Regions from separate parts of the Homo sapiens genome. Here all the other regions are linked to region 1. The links are contacts of gene promoters, found by promoter capture Hi-C in blood cells and fetal thymus (Javierre and others, 2016). All regions are on one chromosome and are shown on one strand. The core of a region is centred on a gene start or on the middle of the fragment in contact, and the rest is flanking DNA. Distances in the headings are between cores, read along the strand shown.

Region 1 (3,502 bases), core at 260-2,759:
CTTGACAAGTCACCTAGTCACTCAGTCTCAGGTACCTCAAGTATAAAATAGGGTTACTTTTAACCACTTTATAGATTGTTTTGAAGGTTAAAAGAAACAATGTAGGTGAACGTGAGTTATGTAATTATGACCCAAATCTTTTTTTTTTTTTTTTTAAGATGGAGTCTCCCTCTGTCACCAGGCTGGAGCACAGTGGCACCATCTCGGCTCATTACAACCTCCACCTCCCAGGTTCAAGTGATTCTCCTGCCTCAGCCTCCCGAGTAGCTGGGATTACAGACAGGTGCCACCACACCCAGCTAATATTTGTATTTTTAGTAGAGACAGGGTTTCACCATGTTGGCCAGGATGGTCTGGATCTCTTGACCCCAAGTGATCCGCCCACCTCGGCCTCCCAAAGTGCTGGGATTACAGGCGTGAGCCACCGCGGCTGGCCCGACCCAAGTCTTTTGAATGAATATAAGAAGCTACTGAATCCGACCCAGGTCTTTTGAATGAATATAAGAAGCTACTGAACTCATTTTAGACCTCACATCAATGTTGTTCATGCTAGTGAAAGTCTTTCATGGTAAATCCGTACACAGAAAATACAGATACGACACACTGAGTGGATGCAGGTGAGGTATAAACAGTGACCTAGAAAGATCATGGTATCCAATAGTTCTGAGGACCGAAAAGATGGGCAGTACTTGCCCACAACATATGAATTTATGCAGTAAAAATAACATACAGCTTCTTCTTCATTTCAATAGAAATTAAAACGGGTTCAACCCTAGAGTTCCGTTTGGGAACACAAAGCACTAATTAATTATTTTGTCTCTGAAAATGACATGAGTAACTCATTATCAGAGTATGGTCAAGACTAATAAAATGGCTATCAGTCAATTAATAATACAGACATCTTCAAGGAGACTTAAAAACAACATAAAAAGGTAACTCACTTTCTTAATGGCGACAATTTGGTTGGTGTTCTTATCTCTGGCCTTGTAAACGGTGGCAAACTAGAAAGAAAAATAGAAATAACATAAGTTTATGGGAGTTTTTGTGTTTGCCTTTTTGCATTTTTACATTTCGCGAAGCAAAGAGCCCAGAGTTCCTGAGCAGACTCGCGGCGGCTGGAAACGTGGCGGGTCAGTCTCCGTCCAGCTCCAGGCTACTCTTCAGCAAGGAGAGGCCCCTCAGGGATTCACCCCCAGGATGTAAAGAATGGGCAGCAAGTGCGTCTGGACGGTTTCCCCCAACGAGAACGAGCAGCCAAGCCAGACCTCTGGCCTCCACGGGAAAACCCGCAAAGGTGGAGGCGGCGCGGGGCTGTCCGCTTGGGGCCCTCCCCGTCCTTCCAGAGAGCCTCACCTGTCCCTCCCCAAGGAAGTCCAGCTTCTCATAACGCTTTGCCCGAGACTTCACGTCCAGAGCCATCCGGCGCCGTAAAGCCCGACTCCAGCCGAAAAGGGCGAGCTCCCAGGACAACACGAATTTAAAGCTACCTTAAAGCCTCCAACACCCACTTCCGTCCACCGGGCTCCGTCGCTTTAGTATCCCCGCCTCACTTCCGTGGTGGGCGGAGGAAGCTGCGCTAGGCCCAGGCGGTTGGCGTTCCCCACCCGTCACGTGACGCCTGTCGGTGCCTGAAGTGGGGCATCTTCAATGGCTGCTGTGTCACTCTGTTGCCGTTTTAACTTGGGTGTTTTCTACATTACCAGGAACTGGTCAGCGTTCTAATTTGGTGTTCCATGTTCGGGGTTTGGTAGGTGTCTGTGAATGTAGAAAGTTTGGCCTTGTACCTGTTCTCGCTTTTTGGTTCTTGCTCGAGCGCGTCCTGTCGCCGTGGTTGCTATGGACGCCAAACCCTGCTATCTCAGATTACTGAGACGAGTGCCAAGTTCTTACGGGCTGGTCAAGAGTATTCTTAGTCCAGTCCCTTTATGAAGAAGCAGGCCCAGGAAAACAAAATCCAACTCAACTGAAACGTGCTGTGGGAATCAGCTTCTAGTCCTCAGTTTTCTACTCGGTAAAATGGAAAAAATAATGAACTACATCACAGGAGATTGTGGGTATTAAATGAAACATGCAGAAAGCTTAGACATTAACTCAATTAATTGAGACAGTGCTCAATTAACTTAGCAGTAATGAGTACCCAACCCCTTGATTATCATAAATTGTCATAACAAACACACTAATTCATTTATTCAAAAACATATTGAGTGCTTTTCCTTTTTCATTTTTCTCTCTCTTAGGATGCTGATATTGAGTGTTATCTATGTGCCAAGCACCATTGTAGAATCTGAGATAGCAGGGAGCAAAGATCCCTGCCTTCCAATGGGAGGAGATAAAAAAACAAGTCAAATATGTGTTATGATACATAGGTGATAAGTGCTATAGAGATAATAAAGCAGATAAAGGATAACAAATCAGGGCAGGGGCAGGGATGGAGGTTTTAAATAGGGTGGTACAAGAAAGTCATCACTGAAAACCCACTGGAGGGATTGGAGCAGACAAGTGATATGACCTGACTCACTTTTAAAAGGTTCACTCTTGCTGTTGGGAGACTATATTATAGATTTTGAGGGACAAGAAAAAGAAAGAAGGCCTATTAGAGAACTATTGCAGTAATCCAGATGGCTCTACTAGTGGATAATTAAAAGTTTCTGAGCCAGAGCAGCTGTCAACATGGAAATGTGCCCCCCTCCCCCTGCCTTTGTTTGTTTGTTTGTTTTTGAGACAGTCTCACTCTGTTGCTCAGGCTGGAGTACGCTGGCCCGATCTGAGCTCACTGCAACCTCTGCCTCCTGGGTTCAAGCGATTCTCCTGCCTCAGCTTCCCGATTAGCTGGGATTACTGGCCTGCTCCACCACACCCAGCTAATTTTTGTATTTTTAGTAGAGACGGGGTTTCACCTTGTTGGCCAGGCTGGTCTCAATCTCCTGACCTCAGGTGATCCACCCTCCTCGGCCTCCCAAAGTGCTGGTATTTGTAAGTGTAAGCCACTGCGCCCAGCCTATATTTGTTATTTCTAAGAGTTGAAAATCCTAAGTTTCAGAGATATGTTGAAGAAAGTAGCAAAATACCAAGGCCAATAATTTAGTTATTTTTTTTAACTCTGGAATCAGACTGCTTGCATTTGAATAGTGGCCCTATCAGTATTCAGCCACTAGATACAACTAGGGCAAATTACTTACTTTGTTTCCAGTTTCTTCATCCCTAATAGGATCTACTCAAAGGATTGTTCCAAGGCTTAAATGACCTCACACCTGCAAAGCCCTTAGAATAATGTTTGACAGTTAAGTGTTTACTATATGTTAGCCATTATCTTTCAGTCCCTTGTCATTACTTGGGTCTAGGCAAAACTCACACATTGCAGAAAAGACACCATCTCTCTTGAGGCAAGTCATACCTAGTGATGCTGTTGTCATAGTTTCTTCTGACAGGTATCATTGAAATAATAATTTAACCTCACTTGTAGAAATAAGCTAGTGAGCGGCAGGTGCAGTGGCTCACACCT
Region 2 (3,502 bases), core at 593-3,092, 240 kb before region 1:
TACAAAATTAGCTGGGCGTGGTGGCGCATGTCTGTAATTTCAGCTACTCGGGAGGCTGAGGCAGGAGAATGGCTTGGACCCGGGAGGCGGAGGTTGCGGTGAGCCGAGATCGCACCATTGCACTCCAGCCTGGGCAACAAAAGCAAAACTCTGTCTCAAAAAAAAAAAAAAAAAAAAACTATTTTCACTGCAGAGTCTTAGCACATCAATGTATTGTCAAACATAAGGGAAAATATTAGCCTTAGAAACAAAAACATAGGTGCGGTTTCCTTCAGCAAACTCCACAACTCAATAAATCAATCGGACAAATAGACTGGGTACAATGGCTCATGCCTGTAATCTCCACACTGGGGGAGGCCGAGGTGGGAGGATCACTGGAACCCAGGAATCCAGGATCAAGCTGGGCAGCACAAGACCTTATCTCCACGAAAAAAGTTTTAAAATTAGCCGGGTGTGGTGGCAAGCACCTGTAGTCCCAACTACTTGGTAGGCTGAGGTGGGAAGATTGCTTGAGCTCAAGAGGTTGAGGCTGCAGTGAGCCATGATCACACCACAGCACCCCAGCCTGGGTGACAAAGTGAGAACCTATTAAAAAAAAAAAGTTTGGGTGTGGTGGCTCACACCTGTAATCCCAGCACTTTGGGAAGCCAAGGCGGGAGGATCACTTGAGCCATGGAGTTCGAGACCAGCCTGGGCAACATAGTGAGAACCTGTCTCTATTTTTTAAAATAGTCCAAATAACCACCCATTATCTGTACCTATAATTAGCCTGAAAGTTAGAGACAACATATCATTATCATGGCCTTCTAGGGACAACATATCAAACTATCAAAGAAGTAGTGAAATTGAATATTTCTCTTGTATTCCTTCCCTTTGATATCAGTTCTGGCAACACAAGAGAAGAAAAGAGGGAAACATCCAAAGGAAATCCAGTTATGAACTCAGCTCTGTCAGAAATCAGCTGCGTAGTTTTTTTAAATTATACTTTAAGTTCTGGGATACATGTGCAGAGCATGCAGGTTTGTTACATAGGTATACATGTGCCATGGTGGTTTGCTGCACCCATCAACCCGTCATCTAGGTTTTAAGACCCGCATGCATTAGGTATTTGTCCTAATGTTCTCCCTCCCCTTCTCCCCCACCCCCCTACAGGCCCTGGTATGTGACGTTCCCCTCCCTGTGTCCATGTATTCTCATTGTTCAACTCCCACTTATGAGCGAGAATATGCAGTGTTTGGTTTTCTGTTCCCGTGTTAGTTTGCTGAGAACGTTGGTTTCCAGCTTCATCCATGTCCCTGCAAACAACGTGAATCATTCTTTTTTATGGCTGCATAGTATTCCATGGTGTATATGTGCCACATTTTCTTTATCCAGTCTATCATTGATGGGAATTCGGGTTGGTTCTAAGTCTTTGCTATAGTGAATAGTGCTGCAATAAACATGCATGTGCATGTGTCTTTATAGAATGATTTATAATCCTTTGGGTGTATACCCAGTAACAGGATTGCTGGGTCAAATGGTATTTCTGGTTCTAGATCCTTAAGGAATCGCCACACTATCTTCCACAATGGTTGAACTAGTTTACACTCATACCAACAGGGTGAAAGCATTCCTATTTCTCTCCACATCCTCTCCAGCATCTGTTGTTTCCTGACTTTTTAATGATTACCATTCTAACGGGTATACATGTGCCATGAGATGGTATCTTATTGTGGTTTTGATTTGCATTTCTCTAATGACCAGTGATGATGAGCTTTTTTTCATATGTTTGTTGACTGCATAAATGTCTTCTTTTGAGAGGTGTCTGTGCATATCCTTTGCCCACTTTTTGATGGGGTTCTTTGTTTTTTTCTTGTAAATTTGTTTAAGTTCCTTGTAGATTCTGGATATTAGACCTTGTCAGATGGATAGATTGCAAACATTTTCTCCCATTCTGTAGATTGCCTGTTCACTCTGATGATAGTTTCTTTTGCTGTGCAGAAGCGCTTTAGTTTGATTAGATCCCATTTCTCAATTTTGGCTTTTGTTGCAATTGTTTTTGGTGTTTTAGTCATGAACTCTTTGCCCATGCCTATGTCCTGAATGGTATTGCCTAGGTTTTCTTCTAGGGTTTTTACGGTTTTAGGTCTTATGTTTCAGTCTTTAATCCATCTTGACTTAGTTTTTGTATAAGCTATAAGGAAGGGGTATAGTTTCAGTTTTCTCCATATGGCTAGCCAGTTTTCCCAGCACCATTTATTAAATAGGGAATCCTTTTCTCATTGCTTGTTTTTGTCAGGTTTGTCAAAGATCAGATGGTTGTAGATGTGTGGTGTTATTTCTGAGACCTCTGTTCTGTTCCATTGGTCTATGTATCTGTTTTGGTACCAGTACCATGCTGTTTTGGTTACTGTAGTCTCATAGTATAATTTGAAGTCAAGTAGCAGCTGTGTAATTCTAAGCAAGACATTTAATCTGCCTTTACCACTCACAATAATGTCTCTGTGTTAGTCCATTTGCATTGCTATAAAGAAATATCAGAGACTGGGTAATTTATTTATTTTTTATCCAAAATGTGTTTATTGAGGCCAGGCACAGTGGCTCATGCCTGTAACCTCAGCACTTTAGAATGTCGAGGTGAGCAGATCACCTGAGGTCAGGAGTTCAAGATCAGCCTGGCCAACATGATGAAACCCCAAAATAAGCCGGGCATAGTGGCGCATGCCTGTAATCCCAGATACTCAGGAGGCTGAGGCAGGAGAATTGCTTGAACCTGGTAGGCGGAGGTCGCAGTGAGCCAAGCTCACACCACTGCACTGCAGCCTGGGCGACAAGAGTGAAACTCAGTCTCAAAAAAAAAAAAGTGTTTATTGAGATGATTTCCCACTCATCTTGATTCGGAGTGCTTTTTAATGCTGCTTCCTCCTGAAGGAACATCCTTCTGTAAGCCTTGCTTTTCTTTCTGTAGGCTGGCAGAGGACAGTGGAGCAGCCAACACACAAAATTTCTGTTAGTGCATGGCTAAAGACTGTGATGATTTTGTACCATCCTGGGCATTTACACCCATGAAGTAGGAATTGGGGCTCTGCATCAGGCACTGCTTCTTGTGTTTCCTCTTCCCCTATTCTGGAGAGGGATGAAGGAGATCCTTTGTGAGAGGCATGTTCTCCTGGGTAGGTCGTCACCGCTGGAAAAAGACTGGGTAATTCGCAAAGAAAAGAGGTGGCCGGCCACAGTGGCTCACGCCTGTAATCCCAGCACTTTGGGAGGCCGAGGTGGGCGGATCACCTGAGGTCAGGAGTTCAAGACCAGCCTGGCCAAAATGGTGAAACCCCATTTCTACTACAAATACAAAAATTAGCTGGGCGTGATGGCGGGCACCTGTAATCCCAGCTACTTGGGAGGCTGAGGCGGGTGAATCGCTTGAACCTGGGAGGCGGAGGTTGCAGTGAGCTGAGATTGCACCATTGCACTCCAGCCTGGGCGACAAGAGTGAAACTCCGTCTCAAAAAAAAAGGAGAGA
Region 3 (3,502 bases), core at 452-2,951, 220 kb after region 1:
ATTCATTCTCCTACTTTGTCACTCCTCCAGGCAAGATAAAATTCTCATTTGCATCCTCTCTTTTATCTGAAAAGAAATCAAACTTCTATTTGCTTCACTAAATCCATGAGGCAGATAATAGCCTTTCCTGACTCTGGAAGGGATGGCGAGGCGGCTGCTGCCTACTAATAACTGAGAAGAGAAGGACAGTCTTTCTTCAAGTCTGGGTTGTCTCTGTGAGAACGGCCAACTCTACTGGGATTTAAATATTCAAAGTACAATATCCCTCCAGCGTTTGTATAACATACCCAATAAGGTAGGGGCTTGTACATTATGGTGATGTTTTTCCTTGCTTATGTAAGACAAGCCTGGCTGGATGTAGCTGACCAAATGTTATAGGTATGTAGTCAATTCACTTGGCTTGTAGAGAGCTGTGGTCAACTTTCTTTGTTCCAAAAAGGCTGGAAAGAACACTAATATTCTTGTCTTTGAAGATACGGGACAATTGCCGTTAGCTCATGGCTATGCAGTTGTTAGGCTGGGTGTTAAGAGTGAGGAAGAGGAGAACAGTGGGGGCAGGAAAAGGGAGGGGTGTGGATTCATGTCATTAAGACTAAAACCTAGAAACTCAAGCCTTTGAAGAGGAGAAGGCCAGAAAAATCAGGAGTTACAGACAACTTGAATGGCTCATGTCCATTATCTTATGGGCCTGGTTGATGGCTTTGAAGACAGAGGTGGGGCTGGGTGTGGTGGCTCACGCCTGTAATCACAGCACTTTGGGAGGCCGAGGCGGGAGGATCACTCAAAGCCAGGAGTTCAAGACCAGCCTGGGCAACGTGGTGAAACCCCATCTCTACTAAACAGACAAAAATTAGCTGGGTGTGGTGGCGCACACCTGTAATCCCACCTACTCTAGAGGCTGAGGTGGGAGGATTGCCTGAATCCGAGAGGCAGAGGTTGCAGTGAGCCAAGATTGCACCACTGCACTTCAGCCTGGGTGACAGAGTGAGACTCCATTAAAAAAAAAGAAGAGGAAGAAGAGGAAGAAGAGGAAGAGGAAGAAGAGGAAGAGGAAGAAGAGGAAGAAGAGGAAGAAGAAGAAGAAAGAAGAAGAGGAAGAAGAGGAAGAAGAGGAAGAGGAAGAAGAGGAAGAAGAGGAAGAAGAGGAAGAAAAAGAAGAAGAAGAAGAGGAAGAAGAAGAAGAAGAGGAAGAAGAAGAAGAGGAAGAGGAAGAGGAAGAGGAAGAGGAGGAAGAGGAAGAGGAAGAAGAAGAAGAAGAAGAAGAAGAAAGAAGAAGAAGAAGAAGAAGAAGAAGAAGAAGAAGAAGAAGAAGAAGAAGAAGAAGATGATGATAAAGGTAGGGCAGTAGATCATGTCTGGCCATCATTGTTACATAATCCAGAATGTAGCATCAGCTAACTTGGGAACAGTTAACTCTTACTCAGAAAATAAAAATTCTTCAGGGAAGGCTTTCTTCACTATATGTGCCTGCTCCCTGCCCTCCATTTAGATGAAGTGCTCCGTTATATGCTGTCAAAAGATACTGTGCTTTTCCTTCCTAGCGCTTTTCACATAATCATGTTTGTGAGATTATTTGGTTAACACTCCACCATTAGACTGGGGAGGGTAGGCACTGAGTGTATCTGGCTTTGAATGTGGCTGAATAAATATTCCTGACATATGCTCAAAATCTCCTTTCCCTCTCAGGGAGCCTGGCCTGCATAGGAATTGGCATTGCTTGGTGATAATTTTCTTTCCTACTTGACTGCAAAATATGTCCATCTGTCTCTTGGACCTTCCGGTTCCCACTCTACTGGTCATAATGAGTCAATGTCTATAGGACCTGATTACACAACAATTTAGTAGTGACTTTATAACACACCCCACAAATTAACCAGGAAGAATTTCCATTCTCAGAGGACTTGGTTGCTTTACGGACTTTTCTTTGACATGATTGAGGATGTTAAGGCTGGGACTTAAAAATGCCTTTCTTTGGCTCAGGGTAGGAAAGAACATTGGGGTGATGCTGTTATTTGCTATACAAATATTTACTTTTATTGTTGTGTTACTGACCTTCCAACAGATTTTCTGTGGGCAGTAGAGCATTGTGAAAAGATTGTTGTTTTTGGAGTCAGGCAGATTTGAATTTAAATCCCAGTTCTAACAGTTACTAGCCATGAGGTATCTCATTGAGAACTTGGAAAAATGGTGCTTGTTTTGTAGGGTTAGTCCATCTCTAGATACTAGAGCTTAGAGTGCCTGATACATTGTAAGGGCCAAATATGTGGTTGGTAGGTTACAGTGAGGATTATCATTGCCAAATTTCAAAAGTGAAAATTGATGGCCACAGAAGCCAGATAATTTACTTTAAAAATTCACTGTGAGATAGTGCTCAGGAGAAATGGATATAGCTTGTTTTTTATTTTTATTTTATTTATTTATTTATTTTTTGAGACAGTTTCATTCTGTCGCCCAGGCTGGAGTGCAGTGGTGTGGTCTTGGCTCACTGCAACCTCCAACTCCCAAGTTCAAGCGATTCTCCTGCCTCAGCCTCCCAAGTAGCTGGGATTACAGGCACGCGCCACCATGCCTGGCTAATTTTTGTATGTTTAGTAGAGACAGGGTTTCGCCATGTTGGCCAGGCTGGTCTTGAATTCCTGACCTCAGGTGATCTGCCCACCTTGGCCTCCCAAAGTGTTGGGGTTACAGGCATGATCCACTGTGCCTGGCTGGATATAGCTCTTTTAAACTTCATAGAGAGGCAAACTTCTAGGAATGCTGGAGAAAGATTAATATTCAGGAACATATGGGCATTGACTCTAGTTTCTCTACTACCCTAAGATGTAGCTTTGTCAATGAATATGTTATAGAACCTGAAGAGCTTGGCATTGAAATACATTCCCTTATGTGGAGGTACATGGATTATTAGTGTAAGTTCTGATGTGGCAAAGTCAGCTTTAAGTTTAAAATGGCACTGGTTTAGCGAGAATTCGGTAGCTTTCTAGGACCCTTGCTTGCTTGGGGAATGTCTGTACCAGCTGCAGGTTCTATGAGGGTTAGAGAAGCCAGACCAAAGTACACAGCATCTACTGCTATTGTGGGTGGAATTTCCCTTCTGCTAAGAATGACAAGTTTTTAACAATGGGAATGTAAAGCAGATGTGTCTGAGGCTCTGCCTGCTACTTGGAACGCCCTGGAAACACTGCAATCCCTCTGCCCCGTGGTTCTCACACTAGCCTCGTGTTAGAATCACCTGGGAAGTGGTTAAAAAAGGCTGATGCCTGGATCCCCCATCAGATCAATTAAATAAGGAAGGGGACACACACACACACACACACACACACACACACACAGACAACTCTCTAGCTGAGTTGAATGTCTCAGGGTTGAAAATCACTGCTGGCCCAAATTTCTCAATACTCAATACTTTATAAAATTTCAGGAGCTTACCTGCAGCAAATAGAAGAGAGAATAAGTTATAGAAGAGCTTATATCTCTGCTTTGGTGTATTTGGCTGAGGGCA
Region 4 (3,502 bases), core at 378-2,877, 190 kb before region 1:
TCAACCAAGTAAATATGCTCTCTTTTCAGAGAAACAAATCCAAAGACTGAATTCTCAACTCCTTGCTAAGAAATAATGTCCAGGCCGGGCGCGGTGACTCACGCCTGTAATCCCAGCACTTTGGGAGGCTAAGGCGGGTGGATCACGAGGTCAGGGGTTCGAGACCAGCCTGACCAACATGGTGAAACCCTGTCTCTACTAAAAATACAAAAATTGGCTGGGTGTGGTGGCGGGCGCCTGTAATCCCAGCTATTCAGGAGGCTGAGGCAGGAGAATTGCTTGAACCTGGGAGGCGAAGGTTGCAGTGAGCTGAGATCGCACCACTGCACTCCAGCCTGGGCGACAGAGCAAGACTCTGTCTAAAAATAATAATAATAATAATAATAATAATAATGTCCAGTATCTCAAAAAATGAGGGTAAAATTTTCAATGAGGGTAAAATTATGATTATTAAAATAAATTATTACATATATGTAAATAATGATAACAGCATCTCACTGAGTCCTCTCAGCAAACTTGCGAGGTATGAATTATTATTATTGCAATCTCACAGATGAAGAAATGCAGGCATAGAAAGGTTAAATAATTTGTCTGCTGCCACACAGTTGGTAAATTGTGGAATAGAAATTCCCTGACACTACAAAATTTGGCATCTTTAAAAAAAAGTATTATTGGCCGGGCATGCTGGCTCACACCCATAATCCCAGCACTTTGGGAGGCCGAGGCGGGCGGATCACGAGGTCAGGAGATCGAGAACATCCTGACCTCGTGAAACTAGCTAACATGGTGAAACCCCGTCTCCACTAAAAATACAAAAAATTAGCCGGCCGCGGTGGTGGGCACCTGTAGTCCCAGCTACTCGGGAGGCTGAGGCAGGAGAATGGTGTGAACCTGGGAGGCGGAGCTTGCAGTGAGCCGAGATAGCGCCACTGCACTCCAGCCTGGGCGACAGAGACTCCATCTCAAAAAAAAAAAAAAAGTATTATTATTATTAATTTCTTTTTTAACTGTCCTGTGAGTGTAGTAAAAAATTTGGCATCTGAAAGCAAGGTGAGAAGGATACAAAGAACAGCACAGAACTTTAAATACAAGTGAAGAAAGTTTCAGAGAATCACTTTCATTTAAAAAATAATTAAATTTCAAACATATGTTGGTTTGTTTACTTGCATAAATTTTCATCTAACAAAATTAAAAGCAGCTATAGATATGATTGTTTAATTTGGTCCTTTTAGTATCTGGAAAAAAGCTCAAAGTCCTAATATGAACTCGATGTAACAGCTACAATTTCTTTTTTTTTTTTTAATATATATATATTTTTTTATTATACTTTAAGTTTTAGGGAACATGTGCACATTGTGCAGGTTAGTCACATATGTATACATGTGCCATGCTGGTGCGCTGCACCCACTAACTCGTCATCTAGCATTAGGTATATCTCCCAATGCTATCCCTCCCCGCTCCCCCGACCCCACCACAGTCCCCAGAGTGTGATAATCCCCTTCCTGTGTCCATGTGATCTCATTGTTCAATTCCCACCTATGAGTGAGAATATGTGGTGTTTGGTTTTTTGTTCTTGCGATAGTTTACTGAGAATGATGATTTCCAATTTCATCCATGTCCCTACAAAGGACATGAATTCATCATTTTTTATGGCTGCATGTAATAGCTACACTTTCTTTTCTTTTCTTTTTTTAAACAGTCTCACTCTGTCACCCAGGCTGGAGTGCAGTGACGTGATCTTGGCTCACTGAAACCTTCACCTCCCAGATTCAAGTGGTTCTCGTGCCTCAGCCTCCAGAGTAGCTGGGATTACAGGCGTGTGCCACCACGTGCAGGTAATTTTTGTATTTTTGGTAGAGACAGGGTTTCACCATTTTGGCCAGGCTGGTCTTGAAATTCTGGTCTCAAGTGCTCCGCCCTCCTCAGCCTCCCAAAGTGCTGGGATTACAGGTGTGAGCCACCACACCTGGCCAATAGCTACATTTCACAGATGTACGATACTACTATGTAGATAAACAGACCTAAGAGAAAAGTATTAACAAATCTAAAGCATAATATGAAGTAAACTTTATTCTTACCATTTTCCTTTTCGATGACAATGATGGCTCATTTATCTGGAACAAAAAGAGTTCAAATAGTTTTTCAAAGGCATGTGAAGCTACTTTGCAAATATTTTCATCCATTTGCATTTATAGCCCAACCTCAATTTTAAGAGGTTGATCCTCTACTTGACGGGTGTTTCTCATCCTTTTTTTGCCTAGGTTTTGAAGGGCCAGTGGAGAACTGAGAAGAGGGATAACTGTAATTCCCTGTCAATCAGGGCATAGAGAGGAGTAGGGAATACGGAGATGGTGGAAACTGTTAGATAAACCACTCTGAATTACCCTCAAATTTTATTTATTCTTGCCTCCCATTACTTTGCATGATTAAAGAGTTAGGACAATTACTCTATAAAATTAATAGAAAAAAGCCCTAGGCCATTACATCTTCTAACCTTTAGGAAGTTATAGCAACGTACAGACAGGCACAACTTTCAACATCAGGTGACTGAAGTCTAATTAGGCATTATGAAAAGTCTCATAGACATAAGTTTTTGTTGAGAAAGGAAAAAGAAATAAAAGTATTATGTTGATCATTCTATTCATATAGAATTTTTAAATATTAAGATTTAATAACTTATGCAACTAGCATAAATTTATGAGGAAGTATGTGTTTCACTATCTGGATTTCATACTGATTAGAATTAACATTTTTTACTTTGTACACAGAGATGTACATTTAAGAAATAAATTGTAACTTTAAGAAACAAAAATTTAATACATGTGAAGGTTACATAAAAAAACAAAAATGTAAGAAATATGCTTAAAATGCTAAGACACATTTTTAGAAATAACTTGAATCTATGTAGAGTTCTAGCAAGATAAATTATTTTGTGACAATCAAGCTAGGCATGGTGGCTTATGCCTGTAATCCCAGCACTTTGGGAGGCTGAGGGGAGAGGATTGCTTGAGGCCAGGAGTTTGAGACCAGCCTGAGCAACATAGCAAGACCCCGTCTCTACAAAAAATTTAAAATATATAGAGAGAGAGATCACATGGACACATGTCAAAGTCCTTTGTATAACATGTAGGTACTTGTTATAAAACTATTTTTTTCCATCAAGCACAGTGGCTTATACTTATAATCCCAACACTTTGGGAGGCTGAGGCAGGAGGATTGCTTGAGCCCAGAAGTTCGAGACCAGCCTGGGTAACATAGTGATACCCTGTCTCTACAAAAAATATTGAAAAATAGCCAGGTGTGGTGGTGTATGCCTGCAGTCCCAGCTACCTGGGAGGCTGAGGTGGGAAGATTGCTTGAGCCTGGGAGGTCAAAGCTGGAGTGAGCCATGATTGTGCCACCGTATTGCAGGCTGGGTGACAGAGTTAGACCCTTCCTCAAAACAAACCATCAACAACAACAACAACGACAACAAAACGATTTGTTTCCCATTCCACTAGGT
Region 5 (3,502 bases), core at 273-2,772, 160 kb after region 1:
CGTCCCTCTTTGCATCCTCTCTTCCAGCCCTGAGGCTGGTCTTGCCACTGCCCAGACATTTCAAGTTGTACATTTTCCTTGCCGCCTCCACAGCCTTTCATCTAGGGTCCCTCCCTCTTTTCTGTCCAAAGTCCTTCCCATTCTTTAAGTAAGTTGGAGCACCAGATAAATCCAGGCACTAGAGATGGCGTGTGTGTGTGTGTGTGTGTGTGTGAGAGAGAGAGAGACAGAGAGAGACAGAGAGGAGAGAGGACAGGTATTTAGGGGGCTGGGGTGAGGCTGCACAGGAAGCCGAGGGGGTCAGAGGAAGGGAGAAGGCGGGGGGTCAGAGGAAGGGAGAGGGCGTAGGAGGAGGAGTGTGTGGTGTGGCCCCAGGAGCACCCTTAGACCACTGTGCTGAGGGTGGAGTCATCCTCTGGGTGCACTGGCAACAGGGGCCGCTTGAGGGTGCGCCAGGTTTCATCTCGGTTCTACCATACATAATGCACCAGGTCAGCCACCCCTCAACGGCAGGGGCCACCTTGGTGCTCCTCTGGGCCCTGCCCCGACCCACACAGCTCTTCCTCCCCTGCCAGCGGCAGGAGCTCCTGCCCCACCGAGGTCTGGTCGGGTTCTGGGGTCACACACGATGCCTGTCCTGGTGCCCGGCGCCAGCCTCACCAGCCTGAGCACTCCCTGGAGGGCACAGTCCCAGTTTCACGGGTTGGCGGATTGGTTCACTTGGATCTGCAGCCCCACGAAGGCCTCCACGGGCACCCAGGCCAGCTTTTCAGAGAGGTGGAGGTGGTGCACCATGCACGCCAGGGCCGAGAAGGCTGCCCCTAAGAGGCGGGTGAAGATATTAGGGGACAGGTGCAGCTCCTCCAGGACAGGCGGGTGCTGGAAGGCACCGCGGGCACTGACGCCAGCTGGTTGGCATCCAGGCCTGTGGGTGTAGCTGGGATGCGGCGGGGCAACAGAGCTTAGGCCTGCCTGGCTGCAGCCAAGCGTCAGTTCACCGGCTTCCTCTGCCACATGGCAGCCCTGTGGAGGTGCCCGGGGGCTGGGCACGGTACCCCGGTGCCTGTCACCAGCGGGAGGGATGGGAGGTGACAGGCTGCTGGTGGGAGGATGGCCACAGATGGGCAGGGTCCCGGAGTGGAGTAGGACCCCTGTAGGCGGCAGGGCCTTCTCCTGTGCTGCTGCCCTCTCCCGGAAAGTAGCCTCCCTGCTGCTGGGCTCTGGAGATCCACTGCCTCCTTCACAAGTCCTGTTTGCTCCTGGCTGCTGGAAGTTGCCGGCTGGGGCCGAACAGTGTTGGGTTTTCTGGCATGTGGTTCCGGGCCCAGGTGTGGAATACCTGAGCCATGGCTTGGCCAGTCAATGCCAAGAGAGGGCAGATCCTGGACCTGGATGAAATCTGCCATGGGGAAACCAGGCCCCAATTCCAATTCCTGCCTCTGGCTCCCTTCCCAAAGCCTCGGCACTGCCATCTTCCTTCACCCTTCGAGTTTGGGACTTCCTCCCAGAACCCCTCTTCCTTGCCCAGAGCCTGGCTGGGCAGAAGGATCCCGGCTTGGCAGGCCTGAGGTGCAAAATAGGGTGGGGCCCATCTCACATCCACTGCCTGGCAGCAACCTGTATCCCCCACCTCCATCCATCCCTCTGCTGTCCTTGGCCTTTCTAGCATGCCCTGTGGCACTTTCTTCCATGGTGAGTGGACTTCCCTTGTCCTTTTCCTTGGAAAACATGTCTCTCTTCATGGGACCTCATTTCCTGGCTTCTCACAGTACTCAGCCCCTTTCTATTCTTCATCCTAATGTAAACATGTATGACGAAAAGACTTGAGGAACTAGACTTTTCAAGCTCCTTCTGGCTCTTTAATACTAAAATTTCATATGTAATTAAAAAATAGAACCCAAGGGCTGGGCGTGGTGACTCACTCCTGTAATCCCAGCACTTTGGGAGGCTGAGGCAGGCGGATCACGAGGACAGGAGTTCGAGACCAGCCTGGCCAAGAGGCCAGCCTGGCCAATATGGTGAAACCCTGTCTCTACTAAAAATACAAAAATTAGCTGGGCATGGTGGCGTGTGCCTGTAGTCCCAGCTATCCAGGAGGCTGAGGCAGGAGAATCGCTTGAACCCAAGAGGCAGAGGTTGCAGTGAGCTGAGATCTCACCACTGCACTCCAGCCTGGGCAACAGAGCAAGACTCCATCTCAAAAAAAAAAAAAAGAAAAAAAAATTGAACCTAAGATTCATAGGCCTTAGTATATTTAGTGAATAGCTCTTATTTACCTTTATAAGTTCTCTTTGTGCCTGACTTATTTCTCATTACCTTCATGCTCTTATTGTATTCTGATCTTGAATTAAATAGATGCCGGGGATTTATAAAATAGAGTTATAAGAAATATTTTACAGCTATTAAAGTGGGCATAATTAAAAACCTTAATGCAGTTTCAAGAATACTGTAGAGAACTCCTATGTTCCCTCCACCTGATTCCCTAATCGTTAGTAACGTACCATATCTGCCTTATTATTCTTTTTCTCTCTGTATAGATAAAGATTATTTCTTTTTCCAGAACCATCTGAGAATAAGTTACAGACATGATGCCAATCACCCCTAAATACTTTAGTGTCTGTTTCATAAAAATAAGGATACTCTTCTATGTAATCACAGAATGCCCATGAAAATCAGGAAATTATCATTGATACCATAGCACCTTCTTTTTTTTTTTTTTTTTTTAGATGGAGTTTCACTCTTGTTGCCCAGGCTGGAGTGCAATGGCACGATCTCAGCTCACTGCAACCTCCTTCTCCCAGGTTCAAGCAATTCTCCTGCCTCAGCCTCCCAAGTAGCTGGGATTACAGGTGCCTGCCACCATGCCTGGCTAATTTTTTGTATTTTTAGTAGAGACTGGGTTTCACCATGTTGGCCAGGCTGGTCTCAAACTTCTGACCTCAGGTGATCCACCTGCCTCGGCCTGCCAAAGTGCTGGGATTACAGGCATGAGCCACCGTGCTCGGCCACCATAGCACCTTCTAATCCACAAACTTCATTCAAATTTTACTGATTTTTCCCAATAAAGTTATTTATAGATCCAGGATCCAATACAGGATCACGTGTTGCATTTAATTGCCGTGTCTCATTTGTTTCCTTCTATCTGCAACAGTTCCTAGTCTCTTCTTTCTTTCATGACCTGGAATTTTGAAGAGGACAGGTCGATTATTTTGCAGAATGTCCATCAGATTGTGTTTGATGTTTCCCCATGATTAGATTTAGGATAATCATTTTGGCAGAAATACTGCAGAAGTGATGTCGTGTTCTTTTTTTTTTTTGAGACGGAGTCCCACACTGTTGCCCAGGCTAGAGTGCAGTGGCGCGATCTCAGCTCACTGCAACCTCCGTCTCCTGGGTTCAAGTGATTCTCCTGTCTCAGCCTCCCGAGTAGATGGGATTACAGGCTTGTGTCACCATGCTCAGCTAATTTTTGTATTTTTAGTAGAGACGAGGTTTCACCAGT
Region 6 (3,502 bases), core at 508-3,007, 130 kb after region 1:
GAAAAACCTCTTCCCAAGCTAGGAAATTCAGCTAGCTTTCTCAGCCCTCCAAGCTGCAGCTGCTACTGTGGCTAGAGATATGACATTTCCAATTATACCTACTCTGCATCTGACAAAGTACATGACAAACAAGTCAAAGGGATCCCAATCCAGAAGCTATTCTATTGGCCATGAGAGGGGAAAGGACTTTTCACAAAGCATTTCCACATTTCTCACCCTTCACTTTCCACTCTGTCTACCCCACTATTCTGAGTGAGATCCTTTAGAACAGTGGTCCCCAACCTTTTTGGCACCAGGGTCTGGTTTCCTGGAAGACAATTTTTCCAGACAGCAGTGGTGGGGGGATGTTTTAGGACATAACTGTTCCACCTCAGATCATCAGACATTAGATTCTCATAAGGAGCATGCAACCTAGATATCCCTCCCATGCACAGTTCACAACAGGGTTCCTGCTCCCATGAGAATCTAATGCCATTGCTGATCTGACAGGAGGTAGAGCTCACGCAGTAATGCTTGCTCCCCCGTGGCTCACCTCCTGCTCTGTGGCCTGGTTCCTAATGAGTTATGAACCCATACTGGTCTATAGCCAGGGGGTGGGGGATCTCTCTGCTTTAGAACATTCTTTTTTTTTTTGAGACGGAGTCTCGCTCTGTTGCCCAGCCTGCAGTGCAGTGGCGTGATCTCGGCTCACTGCAACCTTCGCCTCCTGAGTTCAAGTGATTTCTGGCTAATTTTTGTATATTTTTTAATAAAGGCGGGGTTTTGCTATGTTGGCTAGGGTGGTCTCCAACTCGTAACTTCAAATGATCCACCCCTTGGCCTCCCAAAGTGCTAGCATTACAGGCGTGAGCCACAGTGCTGGCCAAGAACATTCTTCATTTCACTCCTTACCTCTCATTCTCACGGCAAGGCATTTTTTCTTACACTTATTCACTAAGTAAAATCCTTTACAGATGGGGAAATGTTAAAAGAATGCTCATACACAGCTGCATGATACAATTCCTATCAATGGTCCCTAAGCATTTCCTCCTTAAACCAGTCCACTTGCAGAAAAAGACTAATCTATATAGATCTAGGGAAATATGAAATGGGAGTAGTTTACTTTATCCACCACGCATTTAATCTGATAATTGATATACTACTTCTGAGACATTTATTTATGAGAGTATTTGCAAAATTGTGCAAAAAATGAGTGCTTTTAGAGATTTTTGTTCTCCTTCTTATTGGCTAATTTTATTTACCACTTCAGACCTTTTATTATAGCTTCTAAGCTGTTAACAGGGATCATGAATAAATGATTAAAAAGCCGTTTATGCTAAAAATTTTCTGAAACTTGGAATTCTAACTAGTAAAATATCTATGACAAATCATGAATAAATATATTAATGGTATTCACTAAAGAACTAGTCCAGAAACTAAACAGGTTTGTTCTATCTGTTGAATTCTCTCTGATGCTATAAAAGTGCTAGACACATTTGTACAGATAAATATTTGACGTAAAACACAGTGGAACAAAAATAATATTCAAAATGAAGAAATACAAACACACATTCAAAATATGCATTTTTATTTACCTTAGTGGTCCACAAAGAGTGAGGCCAAAAAACCACAAGAGTGAAATAATACACCCAGCAACTGCATGTTTAAATATTTTGATCCACTATAAATGGAAACAAAAAAATTAAAAATTTCAGTCACATATATTTTGCTATATATCCAAATTTTAAATAAAATACAGAAAGATAATAATAACAAATATTTTAAAGGTGAAATCATTACATATTTTGTAAATAGAAAACATAAGATCCCTTGACTAAGTCTAGATTTCCAAGACAGTATTCTTATTCTGGGCCGGGTGCTGTGGCTCATGCCTGTAATCCTAGCACTTTGTGAGGCCGAGGCAGGCAGATCACCTGAGGTCAGGAGTTCAAGACCAGGCTGGCCAATGTGGTGAATGAAGCCCCGTCTCTACTAAAAATACAAAAATGAGCTGGGTGTGGTGGTGGGTGCCTGTAATTCCAGCTACTCAGGAGGCTGAGGCAGGAGAATCGCTTGAACCCGGGAGGCAGAGGTTGCAGTGAGACAAGATCGTGTCACTGCACTGCAGCCTGGGCGATGGAGCAAGACTCTTTCTCAAAAAAAGAAAGAAAAAAAAAAAGGACAGTATTCTGTTTTCCATTATCTATATTCTTGTCTGCTGGTAGATTTTGAAATCTTTTTCTTCAGAGTACAATTTTATGATTTCTCAGTTTCCCACTAGTTTCCTAGGATCATTTAACTTTTTGTCTTTAAATTCTTTTCTACCAGGAATTTTTAGTGATCCAATTATCTGAAAGGAGAGAAAAAAGTTAAAATGGGGTTTAGACTATTAATCATATTTTAAAAAATGTTCTTGGTCTCTGAAACAGAAGTACTTAAATTCGTCTTTCTAATAAAAAAATTATGACGCAGGTTTGTAAGTCATGGCATAAAGCAAACATGTACTATGGTATAACTGCTGCCCAAAGAAGTGACGATGTGAGATGATTATGCAAAATGTAGGACATTTCTAGTTTGAATCACAGCTGCCTAAAGAGAACAGTGACAATGATCATGAGGGTGTCACATTGTCACAATGATGATGAGGCATCATTCTAAGAACTTCATAAGTATTAATTCATTTTTCCTCACAGTTCTGTTAGGAAGTTACTGTTATCTCCATTTTACAGTGAGCAAATTAAGGTAGAGAGAAATCAAGTAACTTGCCCAAAGTAAGGGTCAGTAAGGAGGACAGACAGAACATGACTTTGTCTGACTCCAGAAATCACACTCTTAACCCCTATGCTTTGTCAGCTTTCCAGTGACATTTGTACTAGGCTCTTGGGCATGCTTTCATGTCCAATTTGTAAATCTTTCAGAATAAGAAGTGTGTACTGAAGAAAACAATTACATGAATGCTTTATAATTTTTTTTACCCTCTTGTTTTTTTTAAAAACATTCCATGATCTTAGTACTTTATGATTTAAAGTCTCCATTCTGAAAAGACAAGAGCAAGTTAACTCTAAAATTGTTCTGTGGCATACTTAAATCATTCATTAAGTACCCATTATAAAAAATAAGCATTGCCTCCTGGCCCACTAAACGAGAAGCTGCTAGGAATAAAAGATTCTGCAAAAATCTTACCTGGTGTTTGGTAATAGTTTTCCCAGAAGAAAATGGCTTTTGAAACAAAACCATAAAAAATGCAGTCCTGTAAATATTGAAACATTAATATATTAATATTAATCCATATTAAACACAAGATACAGTTTTAAGTAAAGACACTTATTTTAAACAAATATGCCAGAACTTGAAGTGTTATCCTCTGAATAAATCATACTGGAGAATTAATTATACTTATTTTAGTAAAACTCCTATTGCAATATTTTGATAACTTTTTTTTTTTTTTTTTTGAGATGGAGTCTTGCTCTGTCACCAGGCTGGAGTGCAGTGGCACGATCTTGGCTCACTGCAACCTCTGCCT

The links. The method cuts DNA at HindIII sites, captures the fragments that hold promoters and counts their contacts. A CHiCAGO score of 5 or more calls a contact.
Region 2: a contact is called between a fragment that was not itself captured here and the fragment with the promoter of CDK7 in region 1, in 1 of 17 cell types (erythroblasts). The highest score is 5.1, in erythroblasts.
Region 3: a fragment that was not itself captured here is called in contact with the fragment with the promoter of CDK7 in region 1 in 2 of 17 cell types (neutrophils and megakaryocytes); the score reaches 6.4 in neutrophils.
Region 4: a fragment that was not itself captured here is called in contact with the fragment with the promoter of CDK7 in region 1 in 1 of 17 cell types (neutrophils); the score reaches 6.2 in neutrophils.
Region 5: a contact is called between a fragment that was not itself captured here and the fragment with the promoter of CDK7 in region 1, in 5 of 17 cell types (neutrophils, total CD4 T cells, megakaryocytes and 2 more). The highest score is 10.6, in neutrophils.
Region 6: a contact is called between a fragment that was not itself captured here and the fragment with the promoter of CDK7 in region 1, in 11 of 17 cell types (erythroblasts, monocytes, M0 macrophages and 8 more). The highest score is 10.3, in erythroblasts.

What each region holds. Positions count from the first base shown.
Region 1 is chr5:69,232,893-69,236,394 of GRCh38, reverse strand. It overlaps CDK7 (cyclin dependent kinase 7), which reads right to left and starts at 1,509. Exons shown (of 12, transcript NM_001799.4): 1 at 1,354-1,509; 2 at 942-1,001. The coding sequence starts at 1,419. RefSeq lists an enhancer at 1,259-1,787. The HindIII fragment of the contact is 18,686 bases long and covers 1-2,080 here.
Region 2 is chr5:69,469,523-69,473,024 of GRCh38, reverse strand. It overlaps the pseudogene RPS27P14. Among named protein-coding and RNA genes, the nearest start is that of OCLN, 22 kb to the left of the region's middle. The HindIII fragment of the contact is 4,373 bases long and covers 1-3,502 here.
Region 3 is chr5:69,011,741-69,015,242 of GRCh38, reverse strand. All of the region lies in intron 1 of LINC02198 (long intergenic non-protein coding RNA 2198), which reads left to right. Among named protein-coding and RNA genes, the nearest start is that of LINC02198, 16 kb to the left of the region's middle. The HindIII fragment of the contact is 9,639 bases long and covers 1-3,502 here.
Region 4 is chr5:69,423,213-69,426,714 of GRCh38, reverse strand. MARVELD2 (MARVEL domain containing 2) reads right to left here. Exons shown (of 7, transcript NM_001038603.3): 3 at 2,079-2,114. Among named protein-coding and RNA genes, the nearest start is that of MARVELD2, 9.8 kb to the right of the region's middle. The HindIII fragment of the contact is 8,540 bases long and covers 1-3,502 here.
Region 5 is chr5:69,072,562-69,076,063 of GRCh38, reverse strand. It overlaps the pseudogene LOC100130639. Among named protein-coding and RNA genes, the nearest start is that of SLC30A5, 20 kb to the left of the region's middle. RefSeq lists a silencer at 848-1,016. The HindIII fragment of the contact is 6,468 bases long and covers 1-3,502 here.
Region 6 is chr5:69,102,789-69,106,290 of GRCh38, reverse strand. SLC30A5 (solute carrier family 30 member 5) reads right to left here. Exons shown (of 16, transcript NM_022902.5): 3 at 3,163-3,229; 4 at 1,575-1,660. Among named protein-coding and RNA genes, the nearest start is that of SLC30A5, 11 kb to the right of the region's middle. The HindIII fragment of the contact is 4,406 bases long and covers 1-3,502 here.